2 separate regions of the Homo sapiens genome follow, and region 1 is linked to region 2. Evidence: promoter capture Hi-C in 16 types of primary human blood cells and fetal thymus (Javierre and others, 2016). All regions are on one chromosome and are shown on one strand. Each heading gives the region's core, a stretch centred on a gene start or on the middle of the fragment in contact. The rest is flanking DNA. Distances are from core to core; before and after follow the strand shown. Region 1 overlaps BCL2L2-PABPN1 (BCL2L2-PABPN1 readthrough). Region 2 holds the start of MYH6 (myosin heavy chain 6).

Region 1 (7,062 bases), core at 2,801-5,300, 80 kb before region 2:
GAGATACAATGACAATTCTTTTCAGGTTTGCGTATATAGAGTTCTCAGACAAAGAGTCAGTGAGGACTTCCTTGGCCTTAGATGAGTCCCTATTTAGAGGAAGGCAAATCAAGGTAAGCCTATGTCCATTGCTGTTCTAGTTGTGTATAAACTCTCCAGGTTGCCTTTAAGGCTATCATTTGTTCATCTCTGACTCAGGTGATCCCAAAACGAACCAACAGACCAGGCATCAGCACAACAGACCGGGGTTTTCCACGAGCCCGCTACCGCGCCCGGACCACCAACTACAACAGCTCCCGCTCTCGATTCTACAGTGGTTTTAACAGCAGGCCCCGGGGTCGCGTCTACAGGTCAGGATAGATGGGCTGCTCCTCTTTCCCCCGCCTCCCGTGAGCCCCGTATGCTTCCTCCTCTCTGGTCTGAGGAACCTCCCTCCCCCCACCCCTCCCCGTGGTCTTCAGGAACTTTGTCTCCTGCCTGTGCAGGTTGAGGAAGGTAGTTGCAGGCCAGGCCAGAAGGCCAGCCTCATCATCTTTTCTGCAGTAGAAATTGGTGATAAGGGCTGCATCCCTCCCTTGGTTCAAAGAGGCTTCCACCCCCAGCCTTTTTTTTCTTGGGAGTTGGTGGCATTTGAAGGTGTTTGCGGACAAAACTGGGAGGAACAGGGCCTCCAGGCAGTGAAAGCACTGCTTGGACATTTGTTACTTTTTTCGGAGTTAGGGAGGGATTGAAGACTGAACCTCCCTTGGAAGAATACCAGAGGCTAGCTAGTTGATCCTCCCCAACAGCCTTGTGGGAGGATTTTGAGATACTTATTCTTTATTTGAGCCAGTCTTGCAAGGTTAACTTCTCACTGGGCCTAGTGTGGTGCCCAGGTTTTTGCCTTGCTTCACTTCTGTCTCTACATTTAAATAGACGGGTTAGGCATATAAACCTTGGCTTTTCATAAGCTCTACCTGCCTATCCCCAGGAGTTAGGGAGGATCTATTTGTGATGGCCTAGGGTTTAAGAGCTGTGGAGGACTGAAAACTGGATAAAAAGGGGGTCCTTTTCCTTGCCCCTGTCTCTCACTCAGATGCGCTTCTTTTTCGCCACTGTTTGGCAGTTTTCTGTTAAGCCCCCCTCCCCCTGCCCCAGTTCTCCAGGTGCGTTACTATTTCTGGGATCATGGGGTCAGTTTTAGGACACTTGAACACTTCTTTTCCCCCCTTCCCTTCACAGTAACTGGGGCAGGGGCCTACGGGGAGGGGCTTGTACTGAACTATCTAGTGATCACGTTAACACCTAACTCTCCTTCTTTCTTCCAGGGGCCGGGCTAGAGCGACATCATGGTATTCCCCTTACTAAAAAAAGTGTGTATTAGGAGGAGAGAGAGGAAAAAAAGAGGAAAGAAGGAAAAAAAAAAGAATTAAAAAAAAAAAAAAGAAAAACAGAAGATGACCTTGATGGAAAAAAAATATTTTTTAAAAAAAAGATATACTGTGGAAGGGGGGAGAATCCCATAACTAACTGCTGAGGAGGGACCTGCTTTGGGGAGTAGGGGAAGGCCCAGGGAGTGGGGCAGGGGGCTGCTTATTCACTCTGGGGATTCGCCATGGACACGTCTCAACTGCGCAAGCTGCTGCCCATGTTTCCCTGCCCCACTTCACCCCCTTGGGGGCTGCTCAAGGGTAGGTGGGCGTGGGTGGTAGGAGGTTTTTTTTTTTACCCAGGGCTCTGGAAGGACACCAAACTGTTCTGCTTGTTACCTTCCCTCCGTCTTCTCCTCGCCTTTCACAGTCCCCTCCTGCCTGCTCCTGTCCAGCCAGGTCTACCACCCACCCCACCCCTCTTCTCCGGCTCCCTGCCCCTCCAGATTGCCTGGTGATCTATTTTGTTTCCTTTTGTGTTTCTTTTTCTGTTTTGAGTGTCTTTCTTTGCAGGTTTCTGTAGCCGGAAGATCTCCGTTCCGCTCCCAGCGGCTCCAGTGTAAATTCCCCTTCCCCCTGGGGAAATGCACTACCTTGTTTTGGGGGGTTTAGGGGTGTTTTTGTTTTTCAGTTGTTTTGTTTTTTTGTTTTTTTTTTTTTTCCTTTGCCTTTTTTCCCTTTTATTTGGAGGGAATGGGAGGAAGTGGGAACAGGGAGGTGGGAGGTGGATTTTGTTTATTTTTTTAGCTCATTTCCAGGGGTGGGAATTTTTTTTTAATATGTGTCATGAATAAAGTTGTTTTTGAAAATAAAAATTGTTTGGCCTTTTGGGTGTAAGGATTATTTATCTTCCTATTCTCTCTTAGATCGCAGATGGCTATTAATTCTGCCTTGTGGTAGAAGTACTGGTGTTGTGGAAGGGAGGTTGCCACTTGTGAATTAAGGAGTAGGAATTACATTACAACTAGCAGGAACATTATGTGTTTAGTTGAGAATGATAGGTTTTCTGGATAACATGTAACCCTGATTGGCATTTGAGAGAGAAATAAGCCTGGGAAAGTAAAAGAATAGCTGAATTGGGCCGGGCATGGTGGCTCACTGCTACAATCCCAGGACTTTGGGAGGCTGAGGTGGGCAGATCACGAGGTCAGGAGATCAAGACCATCTTGGCTAACATGGCGAAACCCCACCTCTACTAAAAATACAGAAAATTAGCCTGACGAGGTGGCGGGTGCCTGTGGTCCCAGCTACTCGGGAGGCTGAGCCAGGAGAATGGCGTGAACCCAGGAGGTGGAGCTTGCAGTGAGCCAAGTTCACACCACTGCACTCCAGCCTGGGTGACAGAGTGAAACTGTCTCAAAATAAAAAAAGGAATAGCCGAATTACTGACCTAATGGCGCTTTTGTGTGCTCCTGATACAGCTTACGTGCAAATGAACTATCCATGCCTGCAGCCCTAGAGCTTTGGATTGGGGTCTGGGTAACCTTGTCTTTGGGGTCTCGCTATGTTGACCAAGCAATCTTCCCATCTTAGCCTCCCAAAGTATTGGGATTACAAGTGTGAACCACTGCACCCAGCTACCTTTTCTACCTCAAGGTGGGCCCAAGAAATGCAGAAGACAAAATACACTTAGCTAAGAGACAATCGGAAAGCTTGTTTTTCCAACCATGCAGTAACCATTTAATGTGTCCAGCTAACTTATATTAATTGGATCATTTATTTTTTTGAGATGGTCTTGCTTTGTCACCCAGGCTGGAGTGCAGTGGCTCACTGCAGCCTCAACCTCCCGGGCTCAAGTGATCCTCCCACCTCAGTGTCCTACATAGCTGTGACTATAGGTGCCTGCCTTCACACTTGGCTAATTTTTTGTAGAGACAGTTTTGCTGTGTTGCCCAGGCTGTCCCAAACTCCTGAGCTCAAGCAGTCCTCCTGGCTTGGCCTTCCTATAGGCGTGAGCCACAGCTCCTGGCCAGGATTAGTTTATTAGGACTTCACAACTGGCTTTCACTGTTTTCATATCTAAATTTTGTCTTGGGCATCCTAATTTCTCCATTTTTTATTCCAGTGTCAGATTGGTCTTAAAACTTGAACACTACATCACTAGCCAGGTTGAACCTTCAGACTTCATTACCTATAGAATTTCTTAGTATTTCAACCTTACTATTTTTTCATTTACTTCTCAGGATGTTTTGTTCACAATTGCCTCTGACCTGGATGCTCTTCAAAAATCATATGTTAAAGAAATGGCTCTGTGGCCGGGCGCAGTGGCTCACACCTGCAGTCTCAGCACTTTGGGAGGCAGAGGTGGGCGGATCACTTGAGGTCAGGAGTTTGAGACCAGCCTGGCCAACATGGTGAAATCCCGTCTCTACTAAAAATACAAAAATTAGCCAGGTGTGGTGGCATGCACCTGTAGTCCCAGCTACTCTGGAGGCTAAGGCAGGAGAATCGTTTGAACATAGGAGGTGGAGATTGAGGTGAGCTGAGACTCAGCCACTGCACTTCCAGCCTGGGTGACAGAGCGAGACTCTGTCTCAAAACAAACAAAACAAAAAACTCTGTTATATCTGAAGCCTTAACCCACCTCTCAAATTGCAGTATTTTCTAAAATCTCATGTCAGTGTTATCCACCACATATTTTAGGATTTGGTCATTTATTCTACTTTCTGTTATGGGTTAGGCATTTGAGGTCTATCTTTTCTCCTAACTAGATTCACCTAAAATAGTGCCGTGATCTCTGTGGCTTCTGCAGAGGCTGATTAGTGAGGGTCTGGATAGTGTTCAATATAAACTTTTTACTGGAAGAATGAAACAGCCTAAGTGACTTGTTGCTGTTAATGCTGTGATGGTCTCATCTGTCCACCAGGGGGCACTAAATGGCTGGCTCTAAAAGATCCCCATAAATTGTTGGGTATTGGAGGGTGAATCATGTTTTGACCCTTCTCTGGTTTAGTTTTCCATATTCAGTCAATTCTACCATATCTTGTCTGTTCTCTCTATTCCTACTTTCACTGCTTGAGTAACTCCCCATCATCATTGCAGGGGTCCTGGCAGATGTATTGGCTTCAAATTTTTTTTTGAAAAATAAAAATTCCTAAAAAAAGTACTTTAAAAGATAGGGTCTCGCTATGTTGGCCAAGTTGATCTTGAACTCTTGGCCTCAAGCAATCCTCCTGCCTCGGCCTCCCAAAGTGCTAGGTTTATAGGCGTAAGCTACCATGCTCAGCCTCCAAACTTCTTATTGCCAAAAAAAGCCCTCTATGATGCCACCAATAAGTACAAAGTCCAAACACAAGCATGGAACTACAACCTTTTTCAATCTGATCCTGATTACATTTCTCTTCCAGATCCTGCCCTACACCTGATGTACTATGCATTGTAGTTGTTATTTATTTTCATGTATCCCTCATGCTGTTCCCTCTAGCCTGCTATGCTCATTCCAACTCTTCTATGAAAATCACGCATATCCTTCCAAGTGTAAGCCAGGTACAACAGACATGAAGCCTTTCCTGATTTCCAAGTCAGAAGTAATCACTCCTGCAGTCAGGACAAACTGTTCCTATCCCTGTTTAATATTTACTTTGTGGTTTTATAATGAAACTAACTACATTTCTGTTTTCCCACTAGAATGCAAGCTTCTTCTTTTTTTTTTTTTTTTTTTTTTTTTTTTTTTTGAGACGGAGTCTCGCTCTGTCGCCCAGGCTGGCCTGCGGACTGCAGTGGCGGGATCTCGGCTCACTGCAAGCTCCGCTTCCCGGGTTCACGCCATTCTCCTGCCTCAGCCTCCCGAGTAGCTGGGACTACAGGCGCCCGCCACCGCGCCCGGCTAATTTTTTGTATTTTTAGTAGAGACGGGGTTTCACCTTGTTAGCCAGGATGGTCTCGATCTCCTGACCTCATGATCCACCCGCCTCGGCCTCCCAAAGTGCTGGGATTACAGGCGTGAGCCACCGCGCCCGGCCGAATGCAAGCTTCTTGAGGGCATCAATTGTGACTTTGTGTCTGCCTCACAGGGCCTGCCATTTAGTAGGTGCCCAAAAGTTGCTTATTCACCCTGGGCTTGCCTTTCCTGTCCTGGAGAAGGCGGTAACAACAATAGTGTTGCCTTTTACCTGGAGCTGGTAGTTTTCTTCCTCTTTTTTTTTTTTTTTCCTGAGACGGAGTTTCACTCTGTCGCCCAAGCTGGAGTGCAGTGGTGCCATCTCAGCTCACTGCAACCTCCACCTCCCAGGTTCAAGCAATTCTCCTGCCTCAGCCTCCTGAGTAGCTAGGATTACAGGCATGCGCCACATGCCTGGCTAATTTTTTGTATTTTTAGTAGAGACGGGGTTTCAACATGTTGGTCAGGCTGGTCTCGATCTCCTGATCTCGTGGTTAACCCACCTCGGCCTCCCAAAGTGCTGGGATTACAAGCGTGAGCCACCATGCCCGGCCTTTAGTTTTATTCTTATAAGAGTCAGACTATTTTACTTAAAAGAGACTAGGTTTAGAGGAAGAAGCATGGAAAGAAAGTTACTTTCCTCGGGCAAGCTTGGTTATTTTTGGTGGATGATTTCTGTCAGTCACTCCTGATCGGCTCTCTGTTAACTGAGGGATAGAAATGAGCCCAATCTCACTGGAGTTCCATGGGAAGAAAGAGACTGGGAGAGCCTGTGTATAAAACCTGTCTGGGGTGAGGGTCTGTGAGTCAGAGATCCTTAGAGGGCCTTTGGATGATGCAAAATAAACCGAGGCAAGCCAGTGCTTTTTAAGGTAGGATTTGCCCAATCCGACGTTGGCAATGGAGAAAAGAAACAGTTGGTGGGTTTTTACAATAATATTGCTGCTTTCCTTGTTTTTATGTATGGTTAGAATGAGCAGCCTTTCTCAAATTATGATCACATTTTATTATTATTATTATTTTTTGAGATGGAATCTTGCTCTGTCGCCTAGGCTGGAGTGCAGTGGCACGATCTCGGCTCACTGCAACCTCTGCCTCCTGGGTTCAAGCGATTTTCCTGCCTCAGCCTCCCGAGTAGCTGGAATTACAGGTGTGTGCCACCACGCCAGGCTAATTTTTGTATTTTTAGTACAGACGGGGTTTCACCATGGCTGGTCTTGAACTCCCGACCTCATGATCTGCCTGCCTCGGCCTCCCAAAGTGCTGGGATTACAGGCATGAGCCACTGCACCCGGCCTTATTATTATTTTTTAATGGAGACAAGGTCTTGCTCTGTTGCTCAGAATGAGCAACAAATTCATATCTCACTGAAACCTCAAACTCCTGGGCTTGAGCCATCCTTCCACCTTAGCCTCCCAAGTATCTGAGACCACAGGCACATACCACCATGCCTGGCTAATTTTTTGTTTTTTTATTATTTATTTATTTTTTTGAGATGGAGTCTTGCTCTGTCACCCAGGCTGGAGAGCAATGGAGCGATCTTGGCTCACTGCAACCTCAGTCTCCCGGGTTCCAGCAATTCTCCTGCCTCAGCCCCCCAAGTAGCTGGGACTACAGCCGTGCACCACCAAGCTCGTCTAATTTTTTTATTTTTTAGTAGAGATGGCGTTTCACCATATTGGCCAGGCTGGTCTTGAACTCCTGACCTCATGATCCGCCCGCCTCAGCCTCCCAAAGTGCTGGGATTACAGGCATGAGCCATCGCGCAGGGCC
Region 2 (6,460 bases), core at 1,442-3,941:
TCCACGCAGCACAGGAAGCCTCTGCAGTGTGCAGGAGCCACTCACATATATCATCCAGGCCGCGTAGCGCTCCTTGAGGTTGAAAAGCACCGCGGGCTCGTGCAGGAAGGTCAGCATGGCCATGTCCTCAATCTTGTCGAACTTGGGTGGGTTCTGCTGCAACACCTGGTCCTCCTTCACAGTCACCGTCTGGAGGGGGCGCATAAGCAGGAGGATGAGTGACCACAATCCCTCCGGGACCCTTGCCAGCACTGCCCACTGACCTCCTCCCAGGACACAGGGACTTGGCCTTGCTCCCCTTGCTCTGACCAGTGCCCCGGCCCCTACCCCGATGTCCCCTGGGACACTTTCCCCAGGTAATTTCCCTTCCCATTGTATCTCCCATCCTAGAGACTGTCCTAGGGTACCTTTCTCTTGCCAGATCCCCAGACCATCCTGGGGACACCCTGTGCCCATGACCATCACTCTTCAGTCCCTATGTTCCAAGGGTCTTGGGGCAGACCTGGAGATTGGCAGCTCTCAGATCTGTGCACACCTTATGCTGACCCCGAGGCTGTCTCCCGCGGGCAGCGCTTTAGGGTATCTGTTGCTCAGGGCAAACCTTCACCCCTGCTGGAAAAGTAGTTCACCCATCTACTCCACACTCCCCATCCATCACTGTTGGTGTGGTTTGATTGGCAGCAGTCAGTTTGCCATGCCCTGATGTCATTAGATCCTGCCAGTAGGTATTCCAGTGTTTTTTATAGTGGAGAAATCCGTGGCTCTAAATGACTAAATGATTTGCCTGCACAGTGACTAGCGGGTGGCAGAGCTGGGATCAGAGTCAAAAGCCCCAGGGGATTGTGGCCTGTTATTCTACACTTCAATGGGTTGTAACATTCAGTCAACGAGTTCATGAGGCACACAGCCCTGAGCCGCAGCTGGTAACCAGGGGTGATTCTCTTGGCTGGTGTGAGCAAACCAGGGACCAGAGCTTCTGAGTGCCAGTCAAGGAGAGTGCTCAGCTCAAAAGTTTCTGATCTTTGTGTTCATCTGGGTCTAAGAATTACTCTTGATTTGGGTGAACGGAATTTGAGAAAGTGGACTCATGGAGGAAACTGAGGCACAGGGAAGAGGGATACAAGTGCAAGAAGGGGGCATCATTTAATGCTGTGTCTGTGCCCTCTTTATCTACAAGACCCCTCTTAGGCGAACACTGAGGTTCTTCTTCCTCAGCATCCTCTCTGGCAGGGGGAACATGGCCCTGGGTGGCACCTGTTGCACCAGCTCAGGTCAATTTGAGAGGGATCAGATTCTGGGCTCCTCAAAGGAGCATGTCCTGGCATCCCCACTGGCCTTGGCTTTTCTCCAGCCCTCTCAGCTCCCCCTGCAAGTGGCTCCACCTCTGCATCTTCTTTCCCAGACCTCCTTCCCTTCTGCCCCGGCGCCATGCCCTACTCACCTTCCCATTCTCGGTTTCAGCAATGACCTTGCCTCCCTCCCGGGACAAAATCTTGGCTTTGACAAACTCTTCCTTGTCATCGGGCACGAAGCACTCAGTGCGAATGTCAAAGGGCCGGGTCTGGGCCTCTAGACGCTCCTTCTCTGACTTGCGGAGGTACTGGGCCGCTGCCCCAAAGTCAGCCATCTGGGCATCGGTCATCTTGGTGCTTCCCCTGGGTCAGAGACAGGAGGGCTATGTTACTCCTGAGGGAGCCCAGGCTCCAGCGAGTGGCTTTGTCCTCTGCAGCCCCCCTCCCTACCCCCGCTCCTCTCCTCCACCCTGGGAGAGGCACCTGCTGTTGCACCCTCCCCTACTCAGGGCTCTGCTTCTCCTGCCCTCTGAGGTGATGCTGAAGGACAATCTCTGTAAGGGGTTTCCCTGGGGTGGCATTGGCTGGAGTATGCTAAGGGTTGGCGCTGAGTGCTTGGGACAGCAGACCCCTGGTCCAGCAATCCGGCTCCCAGGAGAAGCATGCCCCAGTCTCTGCAGAGAAAATGGGGGCAGTTCTCACCTGGTTATCCCTTCACGGAGAATCCTGAAGAATCTGGACCGTGGGTGGAGCAAGGAACAACAGAGGTAGAGCCGGGCAGAGAGAAGAACAGATGAGGAGAGTGAAGAACAACAGAGGCAGGCCACCCGGGGATGGAGGCAGCCCCAGAGCGCAGACAGGCAGGACAGACCAGGGAGTCAGAAAGGGAAAGACGCAGAGGCAGAAAAGAAAGGGCACCGAGTCAATATGAGTGCGAGGGACGGGGTGTGGAAACAGGGTTAGAAGCAGAGAGGCAGGGAGGTGAGAACACGTGCCAAGAAGGAAGGACAAGGGAGAGAGACAAAGAAGCATGATTGTGACAAGTGTCGATGAAGACCAAGAGGCAAGATAAAACCAGGATCAAGGGAAGGAAGCCATCCAAAGGAGGAAGGAAGATGGAAAGATGGAGACAACATGTAGGAGACTCAGAATGATGCAGAGAAAGAAATGGAGAGTCAGAGAAGGAGAAAAGAGGTTTCTGGGTTTCCTGTGGAACCTCCTTGTGTCAGGGGGAACTTCCCTGGGCCTGGAGATAGGCAGTTTTAATAGAGCCCTTAGGCCTCCAACTGACCTGCACCCCACTCCTGGTGAAGGAGGTCCCTCACGGTGGGGGCTCTGTGGACGGGCTGCAGGGCATCCCACCCCAAACCTCCTCTTACCTGGGCCGCAGGAGTCTCTCTATCTGTCCTCAAAGCTCCAGTTCCTTTATATCCCGTTTCCCCCACCCTCTGTCTAAATTTGGAGTCCTTCCGGAGGGACCCTCCCTCCCACCTCTCTCCCCTCCTGGCTCCTCCTCCTTTGATCCTTTGGCTCTGGAGGTGACAGGAGGACAGCAGGGCCCCCTGATTTGCCCAAGAAAGGTCTGCTGCCCCAGCCTCTCTGGCTCCACGGCCTTTTTTTAGTCCTTGGGCACATTCCTCCCCTTCAAAGGGCTGATGAGCAGATAGTGGGAAGACAGGACCTTCTCACACCGCCTCTCCCACCCTGCCATGGCCCTTACCTCAGTTATTTTTAACCCGAAGGGTGAACTGAAAACATGGGTGAGGGTCACCTTCTCCTGCAGGCCAAATGCCTGTCCTCCGCCTCCCAACCATGGGCTTTCCTCCCCTGTTCCCCAGCCTCTCCTTCCCATTCTGACCTCCCTCACACAGTCCCAGGCTGGGAGCATCTTCCTGCTGTTAGTACTGGAGCCCCCAGTGCTAGGGACTAAAAGCTGCAGTATGGTGCCCAGGGAAGGGATCTGTTGTCCATCTCCATGGCTCAGTTTTCTTTTGTCAGGAAATTCTGTCCTGGCCTCAGTCTGCATAAGTGCCATGCCTGGTCTCCTTCTGTTCCCCAAGTCTTCAGACAAGTGTTCTCCCAAGGTCTTGAGGCCACCCTGGTTTGGGGACACGTCTGGAGTCCCCACCCCTTCCCTAATGCTCCTGATAGAGTGGCCAACATCCAACCTGCTCACGCAATGGCAGTGATTCTCCCTGCCGCCTCAGGCAGATTTTCACACAGAACCCCAGTTCAGCACTCTCACATACAGACTTGACCGTGTCTGTGCCCATCTTCAGCCACACATGCAGATTTTTCACACTTACCCACTCAAGCTTGCAGATTTCTTTTCTACTTTCTTTTGTGTACATGGATGCACACATTTGCACATCCGCATTTGCACACATAGGCTTTTGCCCTCCCCTGCTACCCTCTGCTCCTGGGGTGGGGTGGGCAGAAGAAGATGGTGCTAATCCTAGGGCCTGAGAGAGGAGGGGGGTGGGTGAGGGGCTGTCCCCTTCTGCCTCACCGGGCTGCCAGAGGGTGCAGGTGCCTGGCAGGCCTGGGGATTTACACCATCTGGTCCCCAGGCACTGCATTCCATCGGGGTGGGGCTCTGCCACCTGCCCCCTCCCCAGGCAGAATTTTGTTGCCCCTTTCCAAGCCCTCCAGGGCTTATACTCACATTCCCTTCTTTGTGGGTGTCCTCAAGCACCCTAGGCCCTCAAGGCCCCGCTCCCCATCCTCCAATGCTGCCATCTCTCAGAGGCTGTAGGTGTCAGGTCTTCAGCAGGCTGTTCCTGTTATGACTAAGTGGACATTGTGTTCAGGAAACAAAGCCAGACTCCCCTGCTCTGGCCTTCCCCCCACCCTCACACCCAGGAACACCCTCCCAGCCCCCCTCCCACCAGTTTACTGTCACCTCTCAATATAGCTCCAGGGTGTGGAGGTGGGTAGGACGACAGGGGTCAGCTTCTCTGGGTAGGAGCACTTTCCATTAAGATGTGGCCTCTCCCCTAGCTCCCTAGGACGCTGCCACCCCATTCCTGGGCTCAGGAACACACCTCTCTTTCCAGAGCATTTGGACCTTTTCTCAATGTCCTTGGAGGGACCTTAGTTGACCCCACATCCCCATCTTCTGCAGGTGCTTATGCCAAATCATTACCCCCAGGGGATGCAGGCCACCTGTCCCCAGCTCTAGGTTACTCGAGGCCCCAGAATTCGAGCCGGGGGGTTAGCCCATGGCCAGTGCGTCACTGCTTGGTTCCCATAGCTCTGGGGACATGATAAGGAGCTGAGAACGCCAGGTCAGTCTGGGTCGGGGTCAGGTGACAAAGACCAGGCTTTGTCCTCAGGGAACCCTGTGCTCTGAGCAGGCCTCACTTGGTATAGGTGGTGGTGGCAGGGCAGCGGGGAGTGGAGGTGGTGGGGGGTAGTCCCCCGCTCCTGTGGAAGGAGGAGGAAGGAAGGTGTTCACTCAGCCCCAGGCCCTGCCCGTCTGCTCCGCTGTACCGTCCTCTCCCTTCCCCAGGCTCCTTCTCTCCCTGCTCTCACATATTGCTCTCCGTCCTCCCTAAGCTGCCTTGCACACAGCTCCTCATTCTGCTGGGAGTCCTGGAATATAAGGACAGGGATGGAGGCTTCGGCCACAGGTGAGGGTGCCAAGGAGGCAAGGCTGGCCTCCCTGGCACAGGTTGCCTGTCTTCTGCCTGGCTCCCCGTTGCATCTGTCTCTGTCTCACCTTCATTCCCTCTGCCTGCTTCTCCATCTCAGAGTGGGGCCTGCCTCCGATTCTCCCTGGCCCGTGTCTCCACCCGGCTCAGGGTCTAACATGAGGCTCTGCCCTCTCCGAGCTGGCCTCTTCTCTCGCCCTGGGCCTCCACATCTTGCTCCAGGCTCTTCCTCCTCTCCAATCTCCTTGCGCCTTCCTGACTCTCCTTGCATTTGCAAGTGACCCAGGATTCTTTCCTTCACTCGGGATCACCACCCGCAGCTCTTCAAGCTTCTCCCTCCAAGGCTCCCTCTCTTTTCCTCTCTCCCCATCCCCCTCAGCACCCCTCCTTCTCCCTGGCTTGGCTCTCAGACCTCTCTCAACCCTGCTGTCTGCATCCAGCCCCCGACCATTCTCATAGGATCTGTATCTCTTGCGGTCTCTCTTGCTCTGGTTGCTTAGGTGCCCTGGGTCTCTCTGCATAGCTCCCTTTTCAAGGGTTCTCTCCTTTGTTTCTAGTTATCTCTTCATTGCTGTCCAAGTCTGTTCCTAGCCAGAGGAATGGCCCTAGGGATCTCGGCCCAAGCCGAGGTTGTGCCACTGCACTCCAGCCTGGGCAGCAGAGTGAGACTCCGTCACAAAAACAAAAACAAAAACAAAAAGGCTGAAAGAATCCTAGAAATCACAGAGAACTGAATTACCTTGGCCTCTGGGGCTGTGTGGTTCAATTGAGCTGGATAAATGAAAAGGAAGCATCCCTGGTTTGAGGGAGCTCTGTCTGGGTTGGCCTAGGGAAGGAGAATGGAGGTGGCTATGAGGAGAAAGGTGGCGGCGCCTGCGGATCTTTCTGGGGCCTCCTCATTTCCTGCATCTTTTTTCCTTGTCTCTGTTTCCTCTGGTTACCTTGTCCTGTGGTTGCTCAATCTCTTTGTCCACTGCCACCCCCTCAGGTCTTTCCTTGTCCCCTCCCTACCCCCTTTTTCTCCTCTGCTGTCACCTGCTATTGTCCAGTACTGGTTTCTCCTTCTCCGGCTTAGGGCCCTTGGCTCTGGCTGCCGCAGTCCTCAGAGCTCCGAGCTCAGAGCTGGGTACAGAGCAGGAGTGGGCTCCGAGTGGGTATGTTGGTGGGTTGGGGGAGATCCAGTCCAGGGCTGAACCACTGCTTCCCAGGTTCCCAGTGGGGCCGACAGCCCCAGTGCCTTTCAAGCCCCTGACCTCTGTGGCCCACAGTCCCAGGCCTGCCTAAGCAACCCAGCTGTGGCAGGAACTCCAAAGGGGCTGAACTTGTTTAGTTGGAGGAGACTTACTCTTTCCTCCACCTCCTGGCCCTCTCGGGAGCCATCCCTTCCCTCCCTCTCCCCAGAGTCCTGTTCACACATAACCTTCCCCAGCCCCTCATCTGTCTGCCTCCCCTCAAGATGGCTTGCCATAAATGGGCCAGGAGAACCCCATCTTCCCACAAGCCCAGAGGACAAAG

What was found. The method cuts DNA at HindIII sites, captures the fragments that hold promoters and counts their contacts. A CHiCAGO score of 5 or more calls a contact.
Region 1: a fragment that was not itself captured here is called in contact with the fragment with the promoter of MYH6 in region 2 in 1 of 17 cell types (megakaryocytes); the score reaches 6.0 in megakaryocytes.

What each region holds. Positions count from the first base shown.
Region 1 is chr14:23,323,940-23,331,001 of GRCh38, forward strand. It overlaps BCL2L2-PABPN1 (BCL2L2-PABPN1 readthrough), which reads left to right. Exons shown (of 8, transcript NM_001387346.1): 7 at 26-113; 8 at 199-2,224. The coding sequence ends at 360. It overlaps PABPN1 (poly(A) binding protein nuclear 1), which reads left to right. Exons shown (of 7, transcript NM_004643.4): 5 at 26-113; 6 at 199-350; 7 at 1,308-2,224. The coding sequence ends at 1,347. Among named protein-coding and RNA genes, the nearest start is that of PABPN1, 6.0 kb to the left of the region's middle. RefSeq lists a silencer at 4,254-4,343. The HindIII fragment of the contact is 1,983 bases long and covers 3,060-5,042 here.
Region 2 is chr14:23,405,582-23,412,041 of GRCh38, forward strand. It overlaps MYH6 (myosin heavy chain 6), which reads right to left and starts at 2,692. Exons shown (of 39, transcript NM_002471.4): 1 at 2,672-2,692; 2 at 1,995-2,027; 3 at 1,442-1,655; 4 at 46-189. The coding sequence starts at 1,642. RefSeq lists enhancers at 1-3,862, 1,545-2,045. The HindIII fragment of the contact is 15,953 bases long and covers 1-3,605 here.